Regions from separate parts of the Homo sapiens genome. Here regions 2, 3, 4, 5 and 6 are each linked to region 1. The links are contacts of gene promoters, found by promoter capture Hi-C in human tissues and cell types (Jung and others, 2019). All regions are on one chromosome and are shown on one strand. Each heading gives the region's core, a stretch centred on a gene start or on the middle of the fragment in contact. The rest is flanking DNA. Distances are from core to core; before and after follow the strand shown.

The links. The method cuts DNA at HindIII sites, captures the fragments that hold promoters and counts their contacts. A contact is called where the count stands out against the background at its distance.
Region 2: a contact is called between a fragment that was not itself captured here and the fragment with the promoter of MST1R in region 1, in 1 of the 25 tissues and cell types used here (mesendoderm cells).
Region 3: a fragment that was not itself captured here is called in contact with the fragment with the promoter of MST1R in region 1 in 2 of the 25 tissues and cell types used here (dorsolateral prefrontal cortex and lymphoblastoid cells).
Region 4: a fragment that was not itself captured here is called in contact with the fragment with the promoter of MST1R in region 1 in 1 of the 25 tissues and cell types used here (dorsolateral prefrontal cortex).
Region 5: a contact is called between a fragment that was not itself captured here and the fragment with the promoter of MST1R in region 1, in 5 of the 25 tissues and cell types used here (IMR-90 fibroblasts, lymphoblastoid cells, mesendoderm cells and 2 more).
Region 6: a fragment that was not itself captured here is called in contact with the fragment with the promoter of MST1R in region 1 in 9 of the 25 tissues and cell types used here (IMR-90 fibroblasts, dorsolateral prefrontal cortex, liver and 6 more).

The regions. Positions count from the first base shown.
Region 1 is chr3:49,901,165-49,905,846 of GRCh38, forward strand. It overlaps MST1R (macrophage stimulating 1 receptor), which reads right to left and starts at 2,709. Exons shown (of 20, transcript NM_002447.4): 1 at 1,216-2,709. The coding sequence starts at 2,445. RefSeq lists enhancers at 1,060-1,733, 1,734-2,407, 3,044-3,093, 3,082-3,754 and a silencer at 2,634-2,853. The HindIII fragment of the contact is 20,801 bases long and covers 1-4,682 here.
Region 2 is chr3:49,680,819-49,685,500 of GRCh38, forward strand. It overlaps APEH (acylaminoacyl-peptide hydrolase), which reads left to right. Exons shown (of 22, transcript NM_001640.4): 15 at 283-421; 16 at 904-987; 17 at 1,069-1,149; 18 at 1,530-1,618; 19 at 1,728-1,918; 20 at 2,025-2,127; 21 at 2,222-2,328; 22 at 2,419-3,153. The coding sequence ends at 2,524. It overlaps MST1 (macrophage stimulating 1), which reads right to left. Exons shown (of 18, transcript NM_020998.4): 12 at 4,653-4,682; 13 at 4,444-4,564; 14 at 4,194-4,271; 15 at 3,920-4,066; 16 at 3,732-3,838; 17 at 3,496-3,635; 18 at 3,129-3,371. The coding sequence ends at 3,210. Among named protein-coding and RNA genes, the nearest start is that of MST1, 6.3 kb to the right of the region's middle. The HindIII fragment of the contact is 6,358 bases long and covers 1-4,682 here.
Region 3 is chr3:50,100,130-50,104,811 of GRCh38, forward strand. It overlaps RBM5 (RNA binding motif protein 5), which reads left to right. Exons shown (of 25, transcript NM_005778.4): 6 at 403-476; 7 at 2,954-3,037; 8 at 4,119-4,179. It overlaps RBM5-AS1 (RBM5 antisense RNA 1), which reads right to left and starts at 859. Exons shown (of 1, transcript NR_045388.1): 1 at 1-859. RefSeq lists a silencer at 314-514. The HindIII fragment of the contact is 9,297 bases long and covers 1-4,682 here.
Region 4 is chr3:49,734,010-49,738,691 of GRCh38, forward strand. It overlaps IP6K1 (inositol hexakisphosphate kinase 1), which reads right to left. Exons shown (of 6, transcript NM_153273.4): 3 at 4,203-4,413. Among named protein-coding and RNA genes, the nearest start is that of GMPPB, 12 kb to the left of the region's middle. The HindIII fragment of the contact is 5,046 bases long and covers 183-4,682 here.
Region 5 is chr3:50,036,789-50,041,470 of GRCh38, forward strand. All of the region lies in intron 6 of RBM6 (RNA binding motif protein 6), which reads left to right. Among named protein-coding and RNA genes, the nearest start is that of RBM5, 50 kb to the right of the region's middle. The HindIII fragment of the contact is 5,977 bases long and covers 1-4,682 here.
Region 6 is chr3:49,766,354-49,771,035 of GRCh38, forward strand. The region is part of intron 1 of IP6K1 (inositol hexakisphosphate kinase 1); the gene reads right to left. Among named protein-coding and RNA genes, the nearest start is that of IP6K1, 18 kb to the right of the region's middle. The HindIII fragment of the contact is 9,567 bases long and covers 1-4,682 here.

The DNA.
Region 1 (4,682 bases), core at 1,459-3,958:
AACCCTAGGGCCTCTCAACCCAGATGTACTCAGCAGAGGGAGGGAGGCTAAAGACCCCCAACCTCACATTGGGTGTAAGTTCTCCCATCTCCGAGGCATCAATAGGAGCGGAAAGGAGTCTTTCGAGAATGTCACAGCAGGCCCAGGGCCACAGGATGATAGCTAGAGAATCTAAGAACAGTAGCTGTGGGTCCCATTCCTTGGTCCAATCTTACTGCTGTTGCCTACACGATGGCTGGAGAGAACCTAGATAGAGTCTGTGGAAGGAGCCCCCAGTTCAGCACAGGCTTTGAGACTTCCTGCCTGGGGTAGGGCTCCAAATACAGTTAAAAAAAAAAGTCTGGGATGGACCAATTCCAACCAGCCCTTCCTAGGCCTTTACTTATCCCCAGATGTTTATAGTTGCTTGCACAAGACTAGAGTGAGGCTCCCAGAACCTTCTAGAACCAAGCTGCCATTCCATGAGTTCTGGGTACTCCCCCAATCACCCCCAATCATGGCAAAAACGTTAGTGAAGCCCAGGACATGCAGGCTCCCTAACAAGCTCCCAACTTCCAAGGCCCAGGAGGCTCCCTGGAACGTGGTGGCTGGCAGAAGGATGGGGGTGGGTGGGGGGAGGGGGTGTGGAGGAAGGGGAGATTCTCTGACAACTCCCGTCCCACCCCCTTTGGAAAGCAGAGCAAAACAAGGGAAAGTGAAACTGTTGGCAAGCAGCTGTGAGTCTGTGAATCTGTGAGCATCTCCCTGTGTATTTGTGCGTGGTGGTGGTGGTGGTGGCGGGGGTGGGGGAGGGGAGGGGGGAGTGCTATTTTTCTGCGTGTGTCCCTGAGGATATGGGTGGTGGACAAGTAGGAGGGAATGCCCATCATTCTACCCAGCATTCAGGAGCTATGCTAACAGAGACACGGTTATGTAACCCTATCCTCACATAGCCAGGGAAACTACCTAAAAAACCAGAGGCCATGATGGGCAGGTAGGGGAAAGAGCAAGATGAGGCAGCCACAAGGGCCAGCCTGGGAGCTAAGCCTCCAGTGTAGCCTTTGTCTGGCTGGTTTCTCACACCACCCCAGCACTTAGGAACTGGGTGAGAGAGAATGCTTCTTTCCGCCTGCCCCCCCACCGCGCCCCCAGATCCCCTCAGTGATGGAAGGGAAGCAGCCTGTGTTCAGCCATGTGCATGCAGCTCACAAGTAAGGGCCCCTTCTTTCAGCTTACCGGGTTGGGGCAAAAACTGGGCGACTGGAAGAAGTCGAGGCCTCGCCGGAGGCCTGGATGGACTGGGGATTCACAACAGCGCTCCACACCCTCATCAATTAGTGTGTCCAGCAGGTCAATGGGGAAGGCACAGACGACAGAGTTGGGGCCCACGCCAGGACCACCATCCTTGCCAGTCACAAAGACCCCAAATAGTACTTCCTGGCCCTCGGCGATGCTCAGCTCAGTGGCAAGTTGGGCACCCACTGGAGCGGAGTGGGCCACCCGCAGCACAGGGTAGGGCTGTCCGCCTTCTGGGGCCCCCCGGCGCCTGCGTTTTGGAGCAAATCTGCAGTCGAGGACCAGCTCCCGATAGTCACCCAACTCTGGCTCAGTGGCGCTAAGCCGTGCCAGGCGTGTGTGCAGGGCACTAGGATCATCTGTCACGCTGGCCGGCTGTACAGTCAGGAAGTATACGAAGGCTCCCGTGTGGAAGCTGTGCACGTATTCAATACTGTAGGAGACAAGATGCTTGGGCAGCACTGACAACGCCACAAAGCCCGGTGCGAATCCCGAGGCGTCAGCCTTGAGACGCCTGATAGACACTGAGCGTGGGCTGAAGCTGGCAGCCACGGCTGCGTCCAGTGAGGATGCCACGTAGAAATAGGAGGCCTGGCCTTGCTCAACCACAGTTACACGGGTGCCCAATGGGCTGGCCACACAGTCGGGGCAGTCATCGGGCCGGTTATGGTGGGCTGAGAAGAGGCAGGCTGGCGCTGCCAGATGCACGGCTGTCCCTTGGGGCTCTAGGTCATGCAGGAAGCAGCGGCCCTGCAGGCTGGAGCCACAACTGACCAGCGCAGGCAGCGCGGGATCCAGCACCAGCACCTTTGTGTCTGTGTCACCGGGAGGGCCGTGGGGTCCTGGGCCACAGGCTGCACACGTCTGGCAGCCAGGGTCTCCAGCAGGGCCCGTGGCCAGGCTCTGGACAGACTTCAGGTCAGGCCCAAGCACATGCAGGCGATTGCGTATGGCTACAAACACAGCACTCTCATTTCTGTCGCCCTCGTAGGTCACCATGGCCTGTACCAGGCCTCCGGCGGAGAAGCTGGGCACCACGTACTTCACGTCAAAGTCGCGAGAGGCCGCGTAGGGGGTGCGCGGGCACTGCCAGTCCTCGCCCGCCGCGGGCTTGGCAGGCAACAGCAGCAGCAACAGGAAGGACTGAGGCAGCGGCGGGAGGAGCTCCATCGAGGCGAGCTGGGACCCTAGAGGATCCCTACCGGCCTGGGCCTGGACCTGGGCGTGGGCCTGGCTGGGGGCCCGACTCGAGGTCTGGACTGGGCCAAATTTAAGCAGCGGTCCCGACAGCCCCAAGATAGCGGACCCCCGCCCCAGGTTCCTGTGAAACCCAAATCCCTTCCCGGCCCTCGGGTCTGAGCACCTGACGCCTGCGGACGCACGACAGCAACGCCCCAGCCGCCTCACCTGCCGCCCCAGCCGCCGCTGTACACTGGCGCTTAGCGCTCAGCCGACCCGAGGGCGCCGGGCTGGGCGGGCGGAGTCGGGCCGTGGGGGCGGGGCCGCGAGGAAGGCTTGGCCTAGCCCAGGCCCTCCGCCCATCCGACTCTTCCGGCCCTTGGAGGCCTGGCTCCTGTACCTTCACCTGGCGTCTTGGCGCCTTTTTCTCAGCGGCCTGTGGGTGGATGTGCATGGTGTGGCCTGGAGAGAGGTGAGCCAGTCTGAGCCGTCCCATCCCATCCCCCCACTACCGACTGGTTCGCAGCGAGAAGGGGGGCAGGACACTGGGCTCTTTGCTTGCGGTGGAACTAGTTTGCACTTAGTAGCAACACCCTCAGTGGCTGGTGCCCAGAGGTGGCCTGGGGGCCCACCATGTGGAGAACAGAGACCAGGATTGTGTGGAAGACCAGAGGGGAGATGTGGGGCACTTACAAGAGATGTTATGGGGCGCCACCCTTTGTGGGAAAGGACTGTCCTTTTTTTTTTTTGAGAAGGAGTCTTGCTCTGTGGCCCAAGCTGGATTGCAGTGGCGCGATCTCGGCTCACTGCAAACTCCGCCTCCCAGGTTCAAGCGATTCTCCAGCCTCAACCTCCTCCTGTCTCAACCTCCTGAATAGCTGGGATTACAGGCGCGCACCACCACACCCGGCTAATTTTGTATTTTTAGTAGAGACAGGATTCACAGTGTTGGCCAGGCTGGTCTCAAACTCCTGACCTCAGGTGATCCGCCCGCCTCAGCCTCCCAAACTGTTGGGATTACAGGCGTAAGCCACCGCGCCCGGCCGGGACCATTCTTCCATGTGCTTCTCCTGAGCTATCAGCGACAAGATGGTGTCAGAGGAAGGTGTGTTATGCCCTGCTCTCCCAGGGCCATAAGGGTCTTAGGATGGGATCTGGCCTTGCTGACTGGACCTCAGAGTCAGAGAGGCACGTAAGTGGAGGCCCATACCTCCTCTGCAGCCTCAGTATATGGAAGCTGTATAATGGGGTCCACAGTATGGGCCTTGGGGACTCCCCCTTCCTTCCTGGCTCTACCCAGTGCCCCCCTGATATGGAGGAATCATGGGCTTTGGCTCTCAGGACACTTCCAACATGCTCTGTAGGCCTTGCTGGATCTTATTCTCTTCAATGAGAATGTAGTTCTGGGCTGGGCACCGTGGCTCATGCCTGTAATCCTAGCACTCCTTTGAGGGGCCAAGGCAGGAGGATTGCTTGAGGTTAGGAGTTCAAGACCAGCCTGGGCAACATAACAAAACTCAACAAAACAAAAAAACTGCTAAAAATGTTTTTAAAATAAAATATGTGACCGGGCGTGGTGGCTCACGCCTGTAATCCCAGCACTTTGGGAGGCCGAGGCGGGTGGATCGCTTGAGGTCAGGAGTTCAAGACCAACATGGTGAACAGACAGATCTGGCCAACATGGTGAAACTATCTCCACTAAAAACAAAAATTAGCCGGGCGTGGTGGTGGGTGCCTGTAATCCCAGCTACTAGGGAGGCTGAGGCAGGAGAATAGCTTGAATTTAGGGGGTGGAGGTTGCAGTGAGCTGAGATTGTGCCACTGCACTCCAGCCTGGGTGACAGAGCGAGACTCCATCTCCAAAAAAAGAAAAAGAAAACGTAGTTCCGACTAGGTGATTTCCCAGAGTTCTCTCTTCTGTTTATGAGGAGTGGGGGTGGGGGAGCCTAGTCCCACACTTGGATCTCAGCAGCTGCCCCTTGGTAACTGGTCCCCCAACACTAGACTGAGGCCCCTGGGGGACAACCTTAGCCTGACAGACCCCTCAGTTAGATAGGCCTGGACCCTAGAAGACAGGGAAGGTCCACAGGGTGGGTCTGGGCTGTGAACTATGGGCCCCAAGGCTGTAGATAAGGAGGCTGGGGGAGAGAGGAGCCCTCAGCCCAACAGGATTTAGCCTGGCTTGGGGAGCTATATCTCCTCACTCCCCTTTCAGTTCATACTTCTGT
Region 2 (4,682 bases), core at 1,872-4,371, 220 kb before region 1:
TCCGTACAAAACAAGGTGCCTGGGGAAGTGCTCTGTCTTGGTATTACAGAGCAAAGGAGACAGCAGAGCCTAGAAGCTGAGGAGGGAGGGGTGTGCCTGTGTGTGATTGTATGAGTATGAATACCTTGGTATATACCATCCCACAACAGGAAGCCATGCTGTACCTTCTGGAGGTGGGTAGAGGGCCCAGCATAGTGAGAGCTGCCTATTTCCCACTGTGGGCAGAAGGGAAGGGCAGGGAGGCAGCCAGGCCACCTATGACACATTCTTTCCCCTTGGCAGAAAGTTGGGTTCCTGCCTTCTGCAGGGAAGGAGCAGTCAGTGTTGTGGGTGTCCCTGGAGGAGGCCGAGCCCATTCCCGACATCCACTGGGGCATCCGGGTGCTACAGCCACCCCCAGAGCAAGAGAATGTGCAGTATGGTGAGCTGGGCCAGGGGCAGAGGGATGCCTTCTCCAGGTTCCCCAGCACAAAGCCTCTGCGGTGACCTTTGCTACCTCCTCTCTCACATTGTGGGGTTTCTGGTGATGACCTCTAAGAGGTTTTCTGTTCCTCTTGTGGATGGGCATGGGAAGTAGCATCTAGACATCTGAGCGCCTGCTCTGGATATCACCTGGGCTTCACCAGGCCAAATCATCTGTGGTTGGAAGACCCAGGTCCAAAGAAAATAGGCCTCATACAAGCCTCAGTGACCACACCTCATCCCGAATGCTGTTGCTGCAGGATGGGGTTCCCTGACGAGGGCAGAAGAAGTATGAGCCTTCTGGGGTCCATGTGTCATGGTGTGGACTACCTTGGCCAGGTCTCTGACCCAGAGGTCAGCCCCACACCTGCAGCTAGAGATGGGGCCTTAGTTGGGGAAGCCCCTAGGCTCACCCTGCTGACTGCTGCCCTCTCCCTGCAGCTGGCCTTGACTTTGAAGCAATCCTGCTGCAGCCTGGCAGCCCTCCAGATAAGACCCAAGTGCCCATGGTGGTCATGCCCCACGGTAGGCATCTGGCGTTAAGAGCCCTTGCCCTCCCAGCCCTCTTCCTAGCTGGCCCTTTCACCCTCCGCTCCCTGTCTGCAGGGGGGCCCCATTCATCCTTTGTCACTGCCTGGATGCTGTTCCCAGCCATGCTTTGCAAGATGGGCTTTGCGGTACTACTAGGTGAGTGAGCAGGGACCCACAGTTCTGTTAGGACTACAGTGGAGTGACGGGGGTGGACCTGGTTTGTATAAGTACCATGGGTGCCACTCTAGTCTCCAGGACTTTCTCTAGCCTAGACCTAGTAACCACTACCAGGAACTGCTGGGGCCCAGCCTCTGGTTCTGTGGCATAGTGATAACAAGGACTAACTCGGGACTTCCAAGGAAAGGGCGCTGTGGTCACTGGGTGGCAGCCTCAAATCTCTGAGTCCCTTCCCCTTGACCCCTTGACAGTCTGTGGTATAGCTGGCCCCAGGGCCTACTTCACAGATGTGTGAAAAGAGCGTCGAGGGGGCTGGGAATGTTGCCTGACTACACTGTCTGGTCCCTCCCTGCCCTCAGTGAACTATCGTGGCTCCACGGGCTTTGGCCAGGACAGCATCCTCTCCCTCCCAGGCAATGTGGGCCACCAGGATGTGAAGGATGTCCAGGTAGCAGGGGCTGGGGCTTCTGGACAGGCTGAAACATGGGCTGCCAGGGGGATGCCTCCATTCAGCTGAGCGGGCAGCTGGCTGCAGCATGCTTTGTCCCACCCTGCAGTTTGCAGTGGAACAGGTGCTCCAGGAGGAACACTTTGATGCAAGCCATGTGGCCCTTATGGGTGGTTCCCATGGTGGCTTCATTTCCTGCCACTTGATTGGTCAGTACCCAGAGACCTACAGGGCCTGCGTGGCCCGGAACCCCGTGATCAACATCGCCTCCATGTTGGGCTCCACTGACATCCCTGACTGGTAGGCATACACCACAGGTCCCTGCCCTTCCCTCCTCTACCTCAAATTCTCATGGAGCCCCGTAGCCCCAGAATTCCTGGGGCTGCAACAGCTCGGTGTCTTGCAGGTGCGTGGTGGAGGCTGGCTTTCCTTTCAGCAGTGACTGCCTGCCAGACCTCAGCGTGTGGGCTGAGATGCTGGACAAATCGCCCATCAGATACATCCCTCAGGTATGCAGCCCCCTCCTTGCCCTGTGTGCTGCCCATCCATCCAGAATCCAGGGCCCAGCTCAACACAGCTCCCCACTCTTCCCCAAACACCCAGGTGAAGACACCACTGTTACTGATGTTGGGCCAGGAGGACCGGCGTGTGCCCTTCAAGCAGGGCATGGAGTATTACCGTGCCCTCAAGACCCGGAATGTGCCTGTTCGGTGAGTGCAGCATGAAGGCCCTGGCAGCTGGTGGGCAGGTGAGCACAGGAGGACCCTCCAACCTTAAATGTTGCTGACTAATCCCTACAGGCTCCTGCTCTATCCCAAAAGCACCCACGCATTATCAGAGGTGGAGGTGGAGTCAGACAGCTTCATGAATGCTGTGCTCTGGCTACGCACACACTTGGGCAGCTGAAGCCCTGCCATTCTGCATGAGCTGATCAGCCTGTGCCACACTTCGCTCTTGAGGAGCTCAACGGTCTGGCAGGGCAGCAGGAGGCTTTCTGGGCTCTGGACTCCACGGATGCGTGGGCAGAGGAATGTGGGCTATGTAGTCATAATAAATTAGGACACAGAGCCTGGTTCCTGCTGGTACTTTGTACCAAACCATCCCCAACCCCACCTCCCACTCTGGGGTGCAGAGACCCTAGGTTCTGGGTGTGGCAGCCACAAGGGCTTCATCTGCCTCCAGTGTGAGAAGGGAGGGAACAGTGAGAGGCTTAGCCTCTGCCTGTCCTGGCAACCAGGACTCTGTACCAGCCTAGCTTCCCTGCTGCAGCCCCTTCCATTAGCAACTACTCTGTACCACCCTTCCCAAGAGTATGTCTGGAGGACTAGTGTGAGGCCCTGTCTTTCCACGGCACCCATGGGCAAAAGTAGTCCCAGGGACATTGCCTTGGTTGGGGAAGCCCCTAGGCTGGACAGATCACCTAGCCCAGGGTGTGCTGGGCTCAAGCCACCCGAGCCCTAGCAAGGAGTCACTGACACATTTCCTGGAAGCAAAGGCTAAGAAGCATCTGTACAGGCATAAAGAGGAAACATGGCTTTATGTCTGACAAGAAGTTTTGTCCTCCCCAAGGCATATGGCATCAAGGCTGGGCCTAACCCAGTCTCATGACCTTGTGAATCCAGTCCACAAACACAGAGACACGCGTGAAGACAGCTGGCCAGCGGGACCTTGCGCATACTCGGTTGGGGATTATAATTCCTTCCAGGACCCAGCAGTTGTGGGTAAAGCAGGCAAGTGGGCCCCCGTAGTCACCCTGGCAGGTAGGAGAACTGATGAGGGCCCCGGGCCACAGCAATGACTAGCCTGCTTCATGATAAAATAGTTCATTTCTAGCCCCCCATACCCTTCCAGGGCTGGCCCAGGGCCCTGCCACCAACCTCACAGGCCCCCACAGGGGCCAACAGTCCCTCAGTGCACATCTCACTCTCCCGCACACGTCCTCGGTGCTTGATGTTACACTCCTGGTTGGAGATGACATTCAGCAAGGCCACATTTAGGACTGTGTCATTACCCGTACCTGCAGTGAGGGGAATGGGGAGAGGGAGAGGGTCCTGCAGGAAGATCCAGGGCTGGGCCTCCTGGCCACCAGCAGTCCTGTGCACTGTGCTCTTACCTTTGGTCTCACCCCAGCCTGCAATCTCACACTTGGTCCCTGGAGGCACCACATACCATTCAGGGGGCAGGCAGATCAGGGCCACACGCTGGTTCAGGGTCACAGATCTTTAGCAAGAATGGGGGCACTCAGGGTCTGAGGCCACAAGGCCCAGCCCCACCTCACACCCTCCCAGGTTGTCCACATACCTCTCCAGCTTGAGCAGGACAAGCTGGGAGCCTGAGGGCCCACACACCATCTTGGCTACTGGGACCCGCTGTAGGCTTGGCTCTCCATGCTGTGGGTTCTGGAACAGGGTGCCCAACCATACCTCATAGCCCGTGAGAGGCATATGGCTGGGAGAGAAGCTCTGCTAGGTCATTTGTGACTCTCAGTCCATTGCCCCAAGGCTCACTTGTTAGCTTGCCTGGGGAAGGGGGAAGGTGGGATGAGACTGGGTCCCCAAACACAAGGGAGGCTCACCAGGAGGAGAAGCACTGCCGGGCAGTCAGTATCCACTGCTCCTTCACTAGAGACCCCCCGCAGAAATGCTGGCCCTGCCTAGAGGAGTGGGGAATTAGGACAGGTAACAGACTCCTGGGACAGATGCTAGACCTGCCATCTTCTGGCTAGGACCTCTGGGGGCAGGGATAGATTCCCAGCCCCCAGTGGGATAACCACAGAGGACACAACCTCAGCTCCTCTCTGTGGGAGACAGGCAGTTGTGCCTCACCGATTCCGCAAGCTGACTGTCCAGGGTGAGTTGCCCGGATGGCCCCCAACCACGCGCAGCTTGGAACGCCGCTGATCCAGCCGATCCACCCTCTTGCCACACTTCTCAAACTGCACCTGGTCTGTAGGATGGGGTGGGCTGGATGAAACCCAGACTGTGTGGATGTCGTGGGCTAAAGGGCCTGACCCATAACTGGCCCAACTCCTAACCTGGGGGGTCCAGGATTGATGGCGGCTGGT
Region 3 (4,682 bases), core at 1,315-3,814, 200 kb after region 1:
CCCAGTCTTCAAGCACATGAATTCAGAATGAAAGGTTTGCCATGGCTAAGGAATGTGACTCTTTGAAAACCATGTTAGCATCTGAGGAACTTTTTTAAACTTTGTTTTAGGGACTTTTTTTTCCTTAGGTAAGTAATGATTTATAAACTCCTTTTTTTTTTTGACTATAGTCGGTTGCATGGTTACTTTAAGCGTGGAATCAAATGGAGTGGCATTTAGTTCAGGCGGCTTGTTCCTTGCCATGGCAAAGTATCAAGAAGATCCCCAAGTCAAGTCACATTTGTAAAGCTGCTTCCCAATTGGCTTTGTCACGCAGTGTTGAAGCAGTGGGAGAGAGATTCACCTGTTATAAAGGAACTGACTAACACAAGTATCCCGTCTATATCTGAATGCTGTCTCTAGGTGTAAGCCGTGGTTTCGCCTTCGTGGAGTTTTATCACTTGCAAGATGCTACCAGCTGGATGGAAGCCAATCAGGTTGCTTCACTCACCAAGTCTAGATATTCATGAAAATGGAACAAGTCTGTACAATTTTAAAAAAAGGTTGAAGGAGTGGTTTGTTCCAAAGGAGTGACTTTTTTTTAAAAAAAAAGCTTTGTATATATTAAAATTGATGTTACTAGAATAAGTACAGTACCAAGGACTTCATTATAGAATTTGTTCTGCCTTTAAACATGGCTACCTACCTGGCAGGGCTTTGTTAACTACTGAATACCTGTCTGGTAATCACTAAAACATCTTAATGTTTCCCTTTTTTCTAGTTTGTTATATTCCTATTATGTCCATTGAGAGTAAGCTTAGTATATCAAACTCTCCATTTGACAGTGAAGAGAACATAGTGAAAGTCTGTGGCGGCATTTTTATAAGTAATTCCTTATTTCTGCCTGAAGACCACAAAGCCTCCTGGAGGCGTAACTGCTCAGACCGGTCTTCAGGGAATATTTAAGGACTTAGTGGAATTTATGAACAATAAGTCTGATGAGATTAGCCTGGGAGTGGTGTCCTGCAGCTGTCTAATCTAGTTAGAGTGGCATTAACATTCTAATCTCCTTGAGAATGCCTTTTATAGTCTGTTCAAAGCAAGTCATTGATGGTTCTTCGAGGTAGTGTTAACTGAAGTGTTCTTCAGTTTGTCAAGATAATGTTCAGTGCTTGGCACTTAAATAACATTTTTTGCAAGAACTCCAAGGCACATTATTGAATGCCTTTAACCAAGTGCATTCTGGGAAGTTTGCTTGACTCATTATCTTGCTTTTCTGCAGCATTCTGTGATTTGAGTCATCCATGAATCCATGAATAAAAGTTACATTCTTTGATTGGTAATATTGCCATTTATAACAAGACTCACTAATGAGGGTATCACTTTGACTGACTGATTTGTTAAAGTTTTTAAGCCTCTCATTTTCCTAACCCAGAAATCACAGCCTGATTTTATTAAAAGTAGAGCTTCATTCATTTCATACCATAGATACCATCCTAGTAAATCCAGAACATATACAAGGTTCATGTGAGTCTGCTTTCTTGACATGATAGCATTGTTTGATGCAGTGGATATGTCAGAATGACTAACCTAGGAGTTTAAAACTCCTAAGAAACTAAAACCTGTAAGACATTTAAAAGTCTCCACAATTTTAATGTATACAAAGCTATGTTACTGTGTAACACATTACAGTTCAAATTCACTCCAGAAATAAAAGGCCAGTAGGATTAGGGACTCACTGGTAGTTTGGAGTCTCCCAGCACACATCCCTCCTAGTGGGATGATCTATTCACATATCTCCCAGCTTTTTTATTTTTGCTTCTGTATATCACAGTGAGTGGATGGCCCTTCAGCTTTTTCTCTCCTGGCCAGACATGCAGTCTTGCCTTTAGATATCGCAGAGACAAAATTCACAGCATGTCTTAAATCTTCCAGGATTTGCAAGAACCAAATTGCTCAACAGTATGTATGTTTAGAGGGGTTAGACTCCTTTTTAAAATCTGGATATCTAACCACCTACTTAAATCTGTTTGATAGTGTCAAACCACCCCCACCCTTGATCCTCCCACCCCCAAGAAAAAGAAAAGATGCTCCTGTTAAATGAAGGCTCTTTAGGGGTAGGTGCTAGGTATACTCTTGGCTAGATTGATTCAGCTCAGAATTTTGACTTTTTAAAGCTAAGTCCTTGTAGTCACATGGTTGACTTGAAGGATGAGGTGGTGTGTGCATTTATGAGCTTTTCCTACCCCCCTGAAGAAACTTCATTGGCCTCCTGGTTACTCACCTTGAAGAGAGTACCATCCATTTTAGTGAAAAACACATCTGTCACCTAGGACATGACATGGTTGCAGTTGACAGGAAAAAAAAAATCTCATTTAGTTGTTTTAGAGTTGGTGGCATTCAGAATAGTCCCTCTTGAGAAAGAATTGTAACCAGATTCCCTTTAAAAATGAGTTCCCCTCCCTTTCCCCCCAAAGGACTCATCCTGAAGCAGAAGGTGTGGGGGGAAGGAGAAATGTAAAGGCTTTTACTTTGCATAAGGATGGGGGACTGGGGAAAAAGGTGAAGCGAAGCCCAAGGACACCATGCTAAGGGCAAAAGTAAGAGACAGTCTCAGAACTGAGAGAATTGTGTCTTCTGCTTTTTGAAGTAGACTGTCACACTCAGGCAGCCTGTCAATGCTGAATGTTAGGACTTCTGTCTCCGCTGGAGACACGGCCTGGTGCAAGTCAGCGTTTAGTGTTTGACAGCTTTCTCAGCACTCCCTGACTCCGTTTACCTTTACTCCGCATCCCATTCTCTTACTGCCTATCTGAAGGATTGGATGGGCAGAGTATAGGTGGCGGTGGTTGGTCCTCCCCGTATGTTGTCCATTTAATTCCAGAGCACTGATTTTTCCGAAGTGTGCTCTGCCCTGGGAAAATGGACACATGTTCCTCACAATGGGAATAACTAATTACTTCTTTTCTTACAGAAAAAGTTGGTGATTCAAGGAAAGCACATTGCAATGCATTATAGCAATCCCAGACCTAAGTTTGAAGATTGGCTTTGTAACAAGGTAAGCATATGTTCTTCCCAAATAGACAAAACTCCTTTAGGATATTGCTGTTTTTTTCTGTTTGTTTATTTGACTGTCCAAACAAGGAAATTGTTACTCAATCATCAGTAATATTCATGGTTTGTTACTTTCCTTGGGTCCTCCTACACTGGTATTAGATGATAGAACTAGAGGTTTCGTTTATTAAGATGCACGTTCTGCTGGGCATGGTGGCTCACGCCTGTAATCCCAGCACTTTGGGAGGCCAAGGCGGGTAGATAGCTTGAGGCCAGGGGTTAGAGACCAGCCTGGCCAACATGGCAAAACCCCGTCTCTACTAAAAATACAAAAATTAGCTGGGCATCACGGTGCGCGCCTGTAATCCCAGCTACTCGGAGGTTGAGGCAGGAAAATCTCTTGAACACGGGAGGCAGAGGTTGCAATGAGCCAAGATCGCGCCACTGCACTCTAGCCTGGGTGACAGAGTGAGACTCTGTCTCAAAAAACAAAAAAGGACAACAAAAAGGATGCAGGTTCTAAGCCCAGTGATTAAGATTTTAGGTGTGTTTCATGTTACTGTTTATTGAATTCTAGAGCTCTCAGTTTTTGGCGTAGTCTCTTAACTGTATTAACCAAAATAGTTGAGAACCCTGCTAAAGTTATATAAGGTTTACCATTTTGAACTTGAATGTTGACATTGATATTTTGAGAGTGCTCAAACTGTGTCCCCTGTCCAGTAGGGGACTAGACAGTGGTTAGTTTACCTTGTGTTTGTGTATGTAGGATGGGATGTATAGTGCTCTGTTGATACAAGGAAGAGCTTCACCAGTGGCTTGCTGTAGAGTTTTCAAATTAACTGAACCCTTTCCTCGGCTTGATAATAATGGGATTCTTCTTCAACATACAACAAACTTTGTTTTTCTTGGGAGATTTTAACAGTGTTACATTCTGAATTTTTTAGGTTATGTCCCCATGTCTCAGCTACGTGAGACTTTCTGCTTTTCTGTTAGTTACTGGGACCTACCCGTGGCCCCACTGTTATTGTTACTAGAAAGCCTGGCCTAATGTGAGAAATAATTACAGATAAAACTTTTTTTTTCAGTGCTGCCTTAACAATTTCAGGAAAAGACTAAAATGCTTCCGATGTGGAGCAGACAAGTTTGGTAAGACTGGATTCAGCTGTTTGCAATATGCATTAAAACCTACTAACTGGGGCAGGGAGCAGTGGCTCACTGTAATCCCACCACTTTGCAAGGCCAAGGTGGGAAGATCACTTGAGGACAGGAGTTCAATACCAGCCTGGCAAGAGATAGCAAGACCCTGCCTGTACAAAAAAAGAAATTTTAAATTATCTGGGTGTGGTGGCACACACCTGTAGTCCTAGCTACTCAGGAGGTTTAGGTGAGAGGATTGCTTGAGTCCAGGAGTTGAAGGCTGCAGTGAGCTATGGTCATACCACTGCACTCCAGCCTGGGCAACAAACAAGACCCTGCCTCTCAAAAAAAACAAAACAAAAATCTGACAAATAGGGTTGTTAACTGTGAGCCTGAGGAAAAGTATAGATTTTAGTGTACTTAAACAACTTGTCTGTTTTCTTTAAATCTTTTCCCTTAGGTTAGATAATGCTGCTCATGATTGTGAGAGCACAGAAAGTTCTTTTGTTTTC
Region 4 (4,682 bases), core at 1,456-3,955, 170 kb before region 1:
GTTCCAGCCAGCTAGCTACTTGGGAGGCTAAGGTGGGAGGATCACCTGAGCCCAGGGGGCTGAGGATGCACTGAGCCATGATCATGCCACTACACTCCAGCCTGGGAAACAGATAGACCATGTCTTAAAAATAAATAAATAATAAAATAAAATAAATAAAACCACAAAGGAGTTTTTGTGAGAAAGCAACTTCAACTGAAAATACTGGAACTTTGCCAACAATTTCATTATGCCCCAACATAAAAATCTTTGCTTGAAGTAACCAACAATACTGTCTATCATACTGAAAGGCCAAGAAAACCAAACTACTGGTGAAGCCATGTGCCCTGCAAATTACAGAGCAAGCCTGCAGCTCAGAGCAGAGGTGGAACATTACCGTAATTTCTTTTTTTTTTTTTTTTTTTTTTTTGAGACAGAGTCTCGCTCTGTCGCCCAGCAACTTCAAATGCCACTCTCCTCTCCAGAACTGCAGGCCTCTCCTCTAACTGTGTGGCATAAGTCGCACAGATTCAAGCTAACACCAGGGCTGGTGTGTGCTGGAAATGCTAACCCTCTCCAAGGGTCAGCTGTGCAACACTGGTGAAGAGGTAGTGGCAGAGACCCCATTTCCACCTAACTGAAAGTAGAGGAGCCCACCAGTGCCTCTCGGAATGATAAAACCCTTACTTTCTTCTGTGAGAGCACTGCTGAGGCCATTCAAAGATGCCTTTTTTTGTGAAACCCTTTAGGAAACAGAAAGGTTGACTTATTTGCCATGTAAACCCAAAGAAGTTCTCTGCGTCTGGATGAAGCCCCCACGGTACTTGGTATCACACCTTTTGTGTTGCAGCCCTGGCTCTGTGAAGAAACAAGCCCCACCCCTGGAATGACGGTCTCTCTGCTAACAGGTCAGACAGAGGTTTGGTCAGTACAGGTAGAGCTGTCACCTTCAGGGCAGGACCTTGAACCTGGACACAGGCGGACAGTGATGTTATTCTAGGTGATGTTATTCTATACCTTTTCACCAGATGACTCATGAAGCAACCTCTGTACCTTTGGAGGACAATAAAAAAAGCCCACTCTAGACTGGGCGCAGTGGCTCATGCCTATAATCCTTACGCTTTGGGAGGCCAAGGTGGGAGGACTGCTTGAAGCCAGGAGTTTCAGACCACCCCGGGCAACAAAGTGAGACCCTATCTCTACAAAAAATTTAAAAATTAGCTGAATGCAGTGGTGTGCACCTGTAGTCCCAGCTACTTGGGAGGCTGAGGTGAGAGGGGATAGGAAGGCTTGAGCCCAGTATTCAAGGCTGCAGTGAGTCACTGATGGTGCCACTGCACTCTAGCCTGGGTGACAGAGCAAGACCTTGTCTCTAAAAAGAGTGGGGGGAAAAGCCCACCCTAAAGCGCTGTTCAGAGAGAACCATCAATTGTCAGCTACAGACTTGGGGAACATTCTTTGTCACCTGAACGACCAAGTTAGGTCCCACAGTCATTAGTCAAGAAGCAGCCTCTTGGGGAGTGAAGGGGAAGCACTAGAAGAAGTGCTTCTGTGGACTGGAAGCCATCTGTCCAAAGAACGTTTGACATTTGAAGACCCTGCTTACCAAGAAGTGGGTATGAAGCTCTCTCCTTGCATGAAAGATGCAGACTGGCCAAAGAGGATCTGCTGACTGAGGACATGGGAAATGACACATAACCCCACTCAGCCAGTGTCTCATGGGGTACTGTACTTGACATGGGCATGTCCTTGTTCACCAAACTGAGTGAGGAGAACTGGAATGTCCTAGGCCTTTACAAAGCTTCAGGGGCACAGGTATGTAGCATGTATTGGTGAACTGATCTGATATCACAGATGAACTATGTACTGTCTCATCTAAGGAAATTCCCAATTTCAGCTTCTAAGTCAAGTCACAAAAGCATCTTACTGAAACCTTTTTTTCTTGAGACAGAGTTTTCACTCTTGTTGCCCAGGCTGGAGTGCAATGGTGTAATCTCAGCTCACTGCAACCTCCACCTCCTGGGTTCAAGTGATTCTCCTGCCTCAGCCTCCCAAGTAGCTGGGATTACAGGCCCGCACCACCACACCTGGCTAATTTTTTGTATTTACTAGAGATGGAGTTTCACCATGTTGGTCAGGCTGGTCTCGAACTCCTGACCTCAGGTGATCCACCCGCCTCGGCCTCCCAAAGTGCTGGGATTACAGGCGTGAGACACCATGCCTGGCTCATAATTCTATTATTATTTTTTTATTTTTTACAATTCTGTGGTTTTTTAGTGAATTCACAAGATTGTAAAACATCACCACTACCTAATTTTCAGAACATTTCATGACCCCAAAATCAAAACCATCATCATTAGCAGTCACTCCCTATTTCCCACTACTTCCAGCTCCTAACTACTAACAGAAAGCAACCACTAACCTACCTTTTCTCTCTATAGATTTGCCTGATGTGAACACTTTACATAAATGGCATTGTACATATGTGGTCTTTTGTGTCTGGTTTCTTTCATTTAACATAATGTTTTCATGATTCATCCATGTTGTAGCATGTACCAGCACTCCATTCCTTTTTAGGGCTAACATTCCATTACATGGATATACCATATTTTGTTTATCCATTCACCAGTTGATGGACACTTGGGTTAGCCAGAAACTGGAAACAACCCTAATAGAAATAATTTTAAGAACATTTTTGTACAAATTTTGTGGGAATATATGTATTCAATTCTTTTGGGTATATACCTAGGAGTGGAATTACTGGTTTAACTTTTGGATTTAATTTTTTTTTTTTTTTTTTTGAGATGGAGTCTTGCTCTGTTGCCCAGGCTGAAGTGCAGTGGCATGATCTCGGCTCACTACAAGCTCCGCCTCCTGGGTTCACGCCATTCTCCTGCCTTAGCCTCCCGAGTAGCTGGGACTACAGGTGCCCACCACCATGCCCGGCTAATTTTTTTGTATTTTTAGTAGAGACAGGGTTTCACCGTGTTAGCCAGGATGGTCTCGATCTCCTGACCTCGTGATCTGCCTGCCTTGGCCTCCCAAAGTGCTGGGATTACAGGCATGAGCCACCAAGCCTGGCCTTTTTTTTTTTTTTTTTTTTTTAGAGATGGGGTCTCACTATGTTGCCCAAGCTGGTCTGAAACTCCTGGCCTCAAAGGATCCTCCCACCTCAGCCTCCTGAAGCATTAGGATTACAAGCGTGAGCCACAGCACTCAGCCTGGTTTAACTTTTTGAAGAACTGCTAAATTGTTTCCCAAGTGGCTGCACCACTTTACCTTCCTACCAGCAGTGTAGGAGGGTTCCATTTCTTCACATCTTGTCAACACTTTTATTGTCTGTCCTTTTGATTATACCCATCCTAGTGGGAGTTCATATTAATTCTTGCATGAAATTATCAAGACACATAATTTGAGGCTGGTACAGTGGCTCATGCCTATAATCCCAGCACTTTGGGAAGCCAAGGCAGGCGAATCGCCTGAGGTCAGGAGTTCGAGACCAGCCTAGCCAACATGGTGACACAACATCTCCACTAAAAATACAAAAATTAGCTGGGTGTGGTGGTGCACGCCTGTAATCCCAGCTACTTGGGAGGCAGAGGCAGGAGAATTGCTTGAACCCAGGAGGGAGAGGTTGCAGTGACGCAAGATGGCACCACTGCATTCCAGCCTAACAGCAAGACTCCATCTCAAAACAAACAAAAAAACATAATTTGAACTTACAAGAAAAATCAATTTCCAACACAACGGAAACTAAATTTTAGTTGCAGGGAAAGCGTTAATGACTGATATGATTCTCAGAGGTCTGACACAAAAACCATTAGGGAACTCCTGGTTGGACTCATAGCCCTTGGGCTTGGACATCCTGCAGGTCAGAAAGCATTTGGAGCCTCGCTACGAACTAATGTATTTCAACCTTCTGTCCTGTGGGTGGCAAGACATAATGAAAAGCCAGAGAACCTTTTGTCACCAGCACAGGGTGTCCCTGCTTCCAAACGGCTGAGAGAGCTTCACTTCCTCTCTCAACCAGCTACAGCTATACCCAGAAAGAGGCACCACTGGGGTGATGTGACACAGAGAAGAGGCTACACCTGTGTGGGTATCCCAAGAACACCAGTCATCTTATCCAACCTTGACTGTGAGCCCTGCTTCCCCATGATGTGTCAGGACTATGGAGACGTCTTGAGTGCTTGTACCAGCAGGACGAAACATGTACCTCTTACCTCTCAGAGGTCTCAAGGGACAGGCTGGCTTTCTCCTCCTTGTGGTCACTGCCACTGCCTGACCGGTGCAGGCTCCGGCGGGAGTGTTTGCGCCGAGGTTGCTCCCGTTCTGTTGTGTCATCCTGTTCCACAGTCTCACTTTCCACATAAGGATAGGCCACTAAGTTGATGTAACCATCACTGTCCCCCTCAAAACAGACAGATACCACGCCTGTTAAAAAAAGGGCAGTTGGTAAACAAATGTCAACACAGGCCGAGTCTATGCAGCACAGACTGTTGGCACTCACTTTCCCACACAGCATGAAGACATCACCTGCCCTGAACCAACTACAGATCAATATCAGAACAACAGCCAGCAGACAGTAACTTCCAGAAAATGGATGACCGTCCATCCCCAAGCTAAATCTGATGCTTACCTTTGTTCCTGGATAAGTCTATATTTCCCCTTCTCTTATCTGGCCCTCTCACTTTCAATTACTG
Region 5 (4,682 bases), core at 958-3,457, 140 kb after region 1:
CTTTTTTTTTGGAGATGGGAGTCTTGCTCTGTCGCGAGGCTAGAGTGCAGTGGCGCGATCTTGGCTCACTGCAGCCTCCGCCTCCTGGGTTCAAGTGATTCTCCTGCCTCAGCCTCCCAAGTAATTGGGACTACAGGCTCATGCCACCATGCCCAGCTAATTTTTTTTTTAATTTTTAGTAGAGACGGGGCTTCACCATGTTGGCCAGTATGGTCTCGATCTCTTGACCTCGTGATCCATCCACCTTGGCCTCCCAAAAAGCTTCCATTCTTAGTCTTGGTACTTCTAAGTGGCATTGGGTCAATAGCTTTCTGCCTAAGAAGAGAATTGGCTGGGCATGATGGCTAACACCTGTAATTCCAGCCCTTTGGGAGGCTGTGGCAGGAGGATCATTTGAGCCCAGGAGTTCAAGACCAGCCGGGGCATCATAGGAAGACCCCATGTCTGCATAAAATAAAATAAATTAGCCAGACTTGGTGACATGCACGTATTGTCCCAGCTTGTCAGGAAGCTGAGGTGGGATGATTGCTTGAGCTCAGGAGATCAAGGCTACAATGAGCTATGATCATACAACACCAGTGCACTCTAGCCTGAGTGACAGAGCAAGACCCTGTCTCAAAAAAAGCAGGGGGGCATAGTCACCTCCCTAAAATATTAGTTGAACAGTATGTATTCAGAAGTCCAGAGGCTCTGTATTTTATTAATATTTTCAAGGCACTATTTCTGCAGAAATCAAGTCAGCAAGACTCTTTGAGGACGTTACAGGCAGAGGGGCTAAAGATACCTTTGAGGAAGCTCAAGTACTTGGGTGGGAGGTGATAGATAAAGGGTCAGTAGAAATAATGTCTCTTTTTATTTTTTTTCCCATTAAAAAATTTTGTTTTAATAGCAATGGAGATGGGGTCTCACTGTGTTCCCTGAGCTGGTCTGGTCTCGAGCTCCTGGGTTCAAGCAGTTCTCCCACCTTGACCTTCTAAAGTGTAGGGATTATAGACATGAGCCACCATGCGTGGCAAATTTCTTTTCTTTCCTTTTTTTTTTTTTTTTTTTGAGACAGAGTTTTGCTCTTGTTGCCCAGGCTGGAGTGTGGTGGCACGATCTTGGTTCACTGCACCCTCCACCTCCCAGGTTCAGGTGATTCTCTTGCCTCAGCCTCCTGAGTAGCTGGGATTACAGGCGCCCGCCACCATGCCCGGGTAATTTTTGTATTTTTAGTAGAGATGGGATTTCACCATGTTGGCCAGGCTGGTCTTGAACTCCTGACCTCAGGTGATCCACCCGCCTCAGCCTCCCAAAGTGCTGGGATTACAGGTGTGAGCCACCGCTGCCGGTTCCAATGTCTCTTTTGGATGGTGGATCCTGAAGAATAGCTGCTGGTTCTTTGGGGATGCCTGGGGAATACTGTGCAGGCTTTGTGATGGGCTCAGCAGTGAGGCCTGTACAGTATCTTAGGTCTTGTGGGCCTCAGTCTGCTCTCTTGGCTGTTCTCTACCACCTCCTGCCATTAAGTTTTTAAGAAAAAGGAATAGTTTTATTATATTCTTTGGTAAACAAAGCAAATTAAGAAGCTTTATATTTTCCACATTTATTTACCAAACTCCCTATTTGTTTTTCTCTATAGTGATTCAGTTTAGAGACCTATTCAATGAAGCATGCCTTGATGTTGAATTTAGAGTCTACTTTTTCCAGAAGAAAAGAGCCAGGGAGCTCCAATAGTAGTCATCTCAGAATATAAAAGTGTTATAGAAATGATGTAAATCAGGCCGGGTACAGGGGCTCACGCCTGTAATCCCAGCACTTTGGGAGGCCGAGGCGGGCGGATCATGAGGTCCGGAGATCGAGAACATCCTGGCTAACAGGGTGAAACCCCGTCTCTACTAAAAATACAAAAAAAATCAGCCAGGTGTGGTGGCCGGCACCTGTAGTCCCAACTACTCAGGAGGCTGAGACAGGAGAATGGCGTGAACCCAGGAGGAAGAGCTTGCAGTGAGCCGAGATCGCGCCACTGCACTCCAGCCTAGGCAACAGAGCAAGACTCCGTCCCCAAAAAAAGAAGAAAAAGAAGAAAAGAAATGATGTAAATCAGCTGCCCTTCACTCTGTGTTGAGGTGGGGGATGTCCCTAATTGCAGTAGGAGAGAGCCTCTCTTTTATCTGGGACTAAAAGCCCTTGCCCTACATACCTCATAATTATTTTAGGGTTAACTGATTCAATTGTCAGAAAAGAACAAGCTGTATCTTGTTTCTGTACATATTCTACTTTGTGAGTATTTTTATTTCATTGCTATGTGATTGGAATCAACTCAGGAAAGAGGAAAAAAATAAGATAGAGGTTATAGAATTCTGAATTCTGAAGGGAATTCTGAGAATTATCAGTAAAATATGTCAAAATGTGATATTTTACTTCCACCAAGAATTAGGCCATATCTTTGTGTGAAAATAAATTATTATTATTTATTTATTTATTTTGAGATGGAGTCTCGCTCTTTTCACCCAGGCTGGAGTGCAATCACACAATCTCGGCTCGCTGCAACCTCCACCTCCCAGGTTCAAGCGATGCTCCTGCCTCAGCCTCCCGAGTAGCTGGGATTAGAAGCGCCCATTACCACACCCAGCTAATTTTGTACTTGTAGTAGAGACAGGGTTTCACCATGTTGGCCAGGCTGGTCTCGAACTCCTGACCTCAGGTGATCCACCCCCCCCCCCCCCACCCTTGGTCTCCCAAAGTGCTGGGATTACAGGCATGGGCCACCGCACCCAGCATACGGAAATAAATTATTAACCAGAGAAATTTTGACTAAGGTTTTTATAAATGTTAGGTGAACCATTGCTCTAAAAGATACAAAATTATAACAAGCTGAAAAGTTTTTTAAAAATCTGCATTTTAGTGGTTCAGTTTTTCAGTTGTTCTGAGTGCTAATAGTTGGAGTTTATAAATTGTAAGAAGCAATCTACGGAGATTCTGTGATGAAGGAATTTGTTGAATGCCCTGTCTGCCTCACAGTCTCAGTCTTTATGATAGAGTCTTGTCTTCTCACAAGGAGAGAAAAGATTTGAGGCTCTTTTGATTACTTACTTACTTGCTTATTTATATATTTTGCCTCTTTGTTTTTGCCGCAAATACAAATGTAATGGAACCTTAGAATAGGAGAGACGTGTGGATCCCCTGGTAGGCACTGTTCTTTCTATGTTCCTGGAGCCAAGTTCATGGAATTACCTCCAAGACTACGGATCCCTGGTTTTCTTTCATCATGATAGGAGGCATTTTCTAGAACCTGAATCTTACTTTAAAATGCATGTAAGACCTGCAAGGAGTGGTAGTGAAGTGGGTGGAATATATTCTTAGCACCAGACACCTTTAAAATATTTAAGTTCTCGGCCGGGTGCCCTGGCTCACGCCTGTAATCCCAACACTTTGGGAGGCCGAGGTGGGCAGCTCACGAGGTCAGGAGACCGAGACCATCCTGGCTAACACGGTGAAACCCCATCTCTACTAAAAATACAAAAAATTAGCCAGGCGTGGTGATGGGTGCCTGTAGTCCCAGCTACTCGGGAGGCTGAGGCAGGAAAATTGCATGAACCCGGGAGGCAGAGCTTGCAGTGAGCTGAGATCGCACCACTGCACTCCAGCCTGGGTGACAGAGCAAGGCTCCTTCTCAAAAAAAAAAAAAAAAAAAAAAAAAAATATATATATATATATATATATACACACACACACACACACACACACGTGTGTATATATATACACACACACATGCATATATATATACACACACATGTATATCTATAGATATATACATATATATGTGTATATTTACATTTTCTTATGTCAGGGTCTGGCTTGGAGTGTATTGTGTTCCCAGAGCAGAATTCTTTTTTTTTTTTTTGAGATTGGGTCTTACTTTGTCACCCAGGCTGGAATGCAATGGCGTGAGCTTGGCTCACTGCAGCCTCGACCTCACAGGTTCAAGCAACCCTCCCACCTCAGCCCCTGGAGTAGTTAGGATAACAGGCGCACACTACCATTTTGTATTTTTTGTAGAGGCGGGGTTTTATCACATTGCCCAGGCTGGTCTCGAACTCCTGAGCTCAAGCAATCCACCTGCCTTGACCTCCCCAAATGCTGGGGTTACAGGCGTGAGCCACTGTGCCCAGCCGCAGAGTTCATCTTGAGACCCTGACTTCTGCCAGCTCTGATCCTAGTGGGTGGGGCTCTGGGGCTCAGTGAAACAGTCAGCCGTTTTGCTTCAGAGAACACAAATAAGATTTTGGCTTGATGCTGGTTGTTGCTGGCGTCATATAGTCTAAAACGTTTGCTGTCAAGAACATTTTAGTAAAAGTTTTTGTTGTGCTTTCATCTAGTCAAGAAAAGATAGGAAGTGGCAGCTGACAGGGCAGTGTCTTCATGCCCCTCAACCTTACATTGGACACTGAAGTAGGATTGTGTTTTCACTGGAAGTCCCAGTGGGGCCTTATCTCCTGGATGCTCAAAGTGCAGCTCAGATCCTGTTGGGTAAAAAGTCTAGTCAAAATGGAGGACATGGAGAAGGCCAACAGGCAGAGCTATAGAGCTGACATAGGGCATTCTTTGTACTTCCCTTAGCCACTGTACTTTCTTTCTTCCTCCATCTCCTCCTTCCCTCTTCTATCTCATTTTGGTTTGGCCTTTGGGAATAGTGGGTT
Region 6 (4,682 bases), core at 983-3,482, 140 kb before region 1:
AGCGAAACTCTGTCTAAAAAAAAAGAAACGCCAGGCGCTGTGGCTCACAACTGTAATCCCAGCACTTTGGGAGGCCAAGGCAGGTGGCTCACTTGAGGTCAGGAGTTCGAGACCAGCCTGGCCAACCTGGTGAAACTCTGTCTCTACTAAAAATTAAAACATCAGTTGGGTGTGGTGGTGGGCACCTGTAATCCCAGCTACTCAGGAGGCTGAGGCAGGAGAATCACTTGAACCCGGGACGCAGAGGTTGCAGTGAGCCAAGATCGTGCCATTGCACTCCAGCCTGGGTGACAGAACGAGACCTCATCTTAAAAAAAAAAAAGAAAGAAATCAGCCAGGTACAGTGGCTCACACCTGTAATCCCAGCACTTTGGGAGGCTGAGGCGAGCAGATCACTAGGTCAGGAGTTTGAGACCAGCCTGACCAACATGGCAAAACCCCGTCTCTACTAAAAATACAAAAATTAGCGGGCATGGTGGTGGGCATCTGTAATCCCAGCTACTCGGAAGGCTAAGGCAGGAGAATCACTTGAACCCTGGAGGCAGAGGTTGCAGCGAGCGTGCCACTGCACTCCAGCCGGGGTGACAAGAGCAAGACTCCGTCTCAAAAAAAAAAAAAAAAAAAAAAAAAAAAAGAAAGAAATCCAAGGGCCTGAAATCCTACAGTTTTGGGAAGCCATGGCAGGAGGATTGCTTAAGCTCAGTTTGAGACCAGCCTGGGCAACTTAACAAGATCCCATCTCCACAAAATTTTTTTTTTTATTTTTAAAAAATCAGCTGAGTTGCACTGGCTCATACCAGTAGTCTCGGCTACTTGGAAGGCTGAGGCAGGCAGGCAGTCACTCAAGCCCAGGAGTTTGAGGCTGCAGTGAGCTACATTCATATCACTCATTCCAGCCTGGGTGACAGGATGAGACCCTATCTCTTAAAAAATAATAATAATTGGCCAGGCGCGGTGGCTCACGCCTGTAATCCCAACACTTTGGGAGGCCGAGGTGGGCAGATCACCTGAGGTCAGGGGTTCAAGACAAGCCTGGCTAACATGGTGAAACCCCATCTCTACTAAAAATACAAAAAAGTAGCCAGTTGTGGTGGCACGTGCCTGTAATCCCAGGTACTCGGGGGGCTAAAACAGGAGAATCACTTGAACCGGGAGGCGGAAACTGTGGTGAGCAGAGATCACGCCACTGCACTCCAGGCTAGGTGACAGAGTGAGACTCCATCTCAAAAAATAATAATAATAATAACAACAACTTAAAAAAATAAAATTAGTCTGGGTACAGTGGCTCATACCTGTAATCTCAACACTTTGGGAGGCTGATGCAGGTGGATCACTTAAGCCCAAGAGTTTGAGACCACCCTGAGCAATATAGTGAGATCCCATCTCTATTCTAAAAAACCGATTAATTAATTTAAAAAGAGTGAAAACATCACCCACAGAATAGCAGAAAATATCTGCAGATCATACATCTGATAAAGGATTAATACATGGAACATATAAAGTACTTGTATAACTCGACAACAACAAAAATAACCCAATTCATAAATGGGCAAAGGCCTTAGACATTTCTCTGAAGATTTACAAATGGCCAAAAAATATGCAAAAAGATGCTCAACTTCATTAGTCATTAGGGAAATGCAAATCAAAGCCACAATGAGAAACTACTTCACATCCAAGTTATAAAAAAAAAAAAAAAATAGAAAATAAGTGTTGGCAAGGATATGAAGAAATTGTAACACTTGTGCACTGCTGGTGAGAATGTAAAGAAGACAGTATGGCAATTCCTCAAAAAGTTAAACATAGAATTACCATATGATTCAACAATTCCACTTTTAGGTCTATACCCAAAAGAACTGAAAGGAGGAATCCAAAACAGATATTTATACACCAATGTTCACAGCATTATTCACAATAACCAAATGGTGTCTACGACCCATGTCCATCAACAGATAAATGGATAAAGATATGCGGTATATACATACAGTGAAATATTATTCAGCCTTAAAAAGGAATGAAATTCTGATGCATGTCACAACATGGATGAATCTTGAAAACATTTTGCTAAGTGAAATAAGCCAGGCACAAAAGGGAAAAAATTATATAATTATAATTCCACTTACATAAAATAAAACAGGGCTGGGCACAGTTGCTTAAGCCTGTAATTCCAGCATTTTGGGAGGCTGAGGCAGGTGGATCACTTGAGGTCAGGAGTTCGAGATCAACCTGGCCAACATGGTGAAACCCCATCTTTACCAAAAATACAAAAATTAGCCGGCCGTGGTGGCGGGCACCTGTAATCCCAGCTACTTGAGAGGCTGAGGCAGGAGAATCACTTAAACCTGGGAGGCGGAGGCTGCAGTGAGCCAAGACTGGGCCACTGCACTCCAGCCTCGGTGACAGAGTGAGACTGAGTCTCAAAAATAAAATAAAATAAAATAGGCGAATTCATTGAGACAAAAAGATTATTAAGAACGTACAAGGGGCTGGGGGAGGTGAGAATGGGGTGTTACTATATAATGGGGAGAGTTCCTATTTGGGATGATGAAAGTAGTTCTCAAAACATCATTGTGAATGTATTTAATGCCACTGCATCATACCCTTCAAAATAGTTAAAATTCTACATTTTCTCATGTATATTTACTACAATTTAAAAATTTCATTTACAATAGCATCAAAAAAATCAAATGTCTTGGGTCAAATTTAACAAAACGTGAAAGAATTCTACATTAAAAACAATGAAATAATGTAGCAAGATAGTAAAGAAGGCATAAATCAAGAAATATGCCTCACACAGCACATGGATTAGAAGGCTCAATATAGTTAAGATGTCAATTCTCCCCAAATGAATCTATAAATTCAGTGGAATCTCAACCATAATGGCAGGAGACTTTTTTACAGAAATTGACAAGCTAATTCTAAAATTTATATGGTAATAAAAAGAAACTGTAATATTCAAATAAATCTTGATAAACAATAAAGTTGGGTTATTTACACTGCCTCATGTCAAGACTTCCTATAAAGCTACAGTAGTGGGGTACTGGCATATGGATAAACAAATAGATCAATGGAACAGAACACAGATTTCACAAACAGGCCCATATCTACAGAGTCAATTGTTTTTGGGATTTTTGCCAGCGACAAATCAGGATATAACAGTCAATTGTTTTTCGACAAAAGTACCAAAGCAAACCAATGGGGAGAGAAAATTTTGGTAGTTTTAAACTATGTCAAATTTTTTTACATTCTTCCCTCTAAAAAGTGAAATCCTCCTCTCTCCTTGAGTACAGGCTAGACTTAGGGACTCATTCTAATGAAAAGAATATGGCAGAAGTGACAGTGTATGACTAGGTCATAAGAGGCTTCATGGTTTCTTCCTTACTTTGTCTTAGATCATTTCTGTAGGAGATAACTGCACGCCATGAGGAAACTCAAAGAGCCCTGTGTATAACTTGTTAGCTTTAAAGTAGGGAAAATTTAAAAACAAACAAACAAAAGCCCTGGGTAGAGATAAACAATATGGAACTGAGGCTTCCTGCAAAGAGCTTTATGAATAAGTCATCTTGAAAACAGATCCTCTAAGCCAAGCATGGTGGCTCAGGCCTATAATCCCAACACTTTGGGAGGCCAACAGGGAAAGATCACTTGAGCCCAGGAGTTCAAAACCAGCCTGGGCAACATCTCTACAAAACATAGAAAAAACTAGCCCTGCATGGTGGTGCATGCCTGTAGTTCCAGCTTGAGAGGCTGAGTTGGGAGGATCACTCAAGCCCAGGAGGCCAGGGCTGCAGTAAGCTGTGATCACCACTTCACTCTAGCCTGGGCCACTTCTGAATTCCTAGCCCTCAGAAACTGAGGTAATAACTGTTTGCTGTTTTAAACTGCTAAGTTTTGGAATAATTTGTTACAGAGCAATAGATAATACACAAGTCTTTTCAACAAATGTTGCTAGTAATGGAACAATCAGTTATCTATGTGGGGGAAAAAGAAACACCAGCCCCAATCTCACACAATAACAAAAATTAACTTAGGATGACTCAGAGACCAAAATGTAAAAGCTAAAACTAGAAAGCTTGTAGGTGAAAACACAAAAAATAAAGTTAGGCTGGGCATGGTGGCTCATACCTATAATACCAGCACTTTGGGAGGCCAAGGTGTGCAGAGCTCACCTGTAGTCTTAGCTACGCGGGAGGCTGAAGTGGGAGAATGGCTTGAGCCCAGGAAGTGGAGGGTGTAGTGAGCGGAGATCATGCCACTGCACTCCAGCCTGGGTGACAGAACCAGACCCTGTCTCAAAAAAAATAAAGTTATATGATTTACACTACCTGACTTCAAGCCTTGCTAGAAATGTCCAACACTTAAGAGGTAGGCAAGGTGTCCTCAGACACTCAGACAGAACACAGAAAGCAATAACCATAACAGAAATTATTGATAAATCGGACTTCATCAAAATTGAAAACCTCTGATTATTTATTTATGAGATGGAGTCTTGATCACACCCGTATTCCTAGCATCTTGTGAGGCCCAGGCAAGAGGAATGCTTGAGGTCAGGAGTTCAGGATCAGCCTGGGCAAATATGCTGAGACCTCCGTTGCTACAAAAAATTTTTAAAAAGAAAATAAGCTGGGCATGGTAGTATGCACATGTAGTCCTAGCTACTAGGGAGGCTGAGGCAGGAGGGTCGT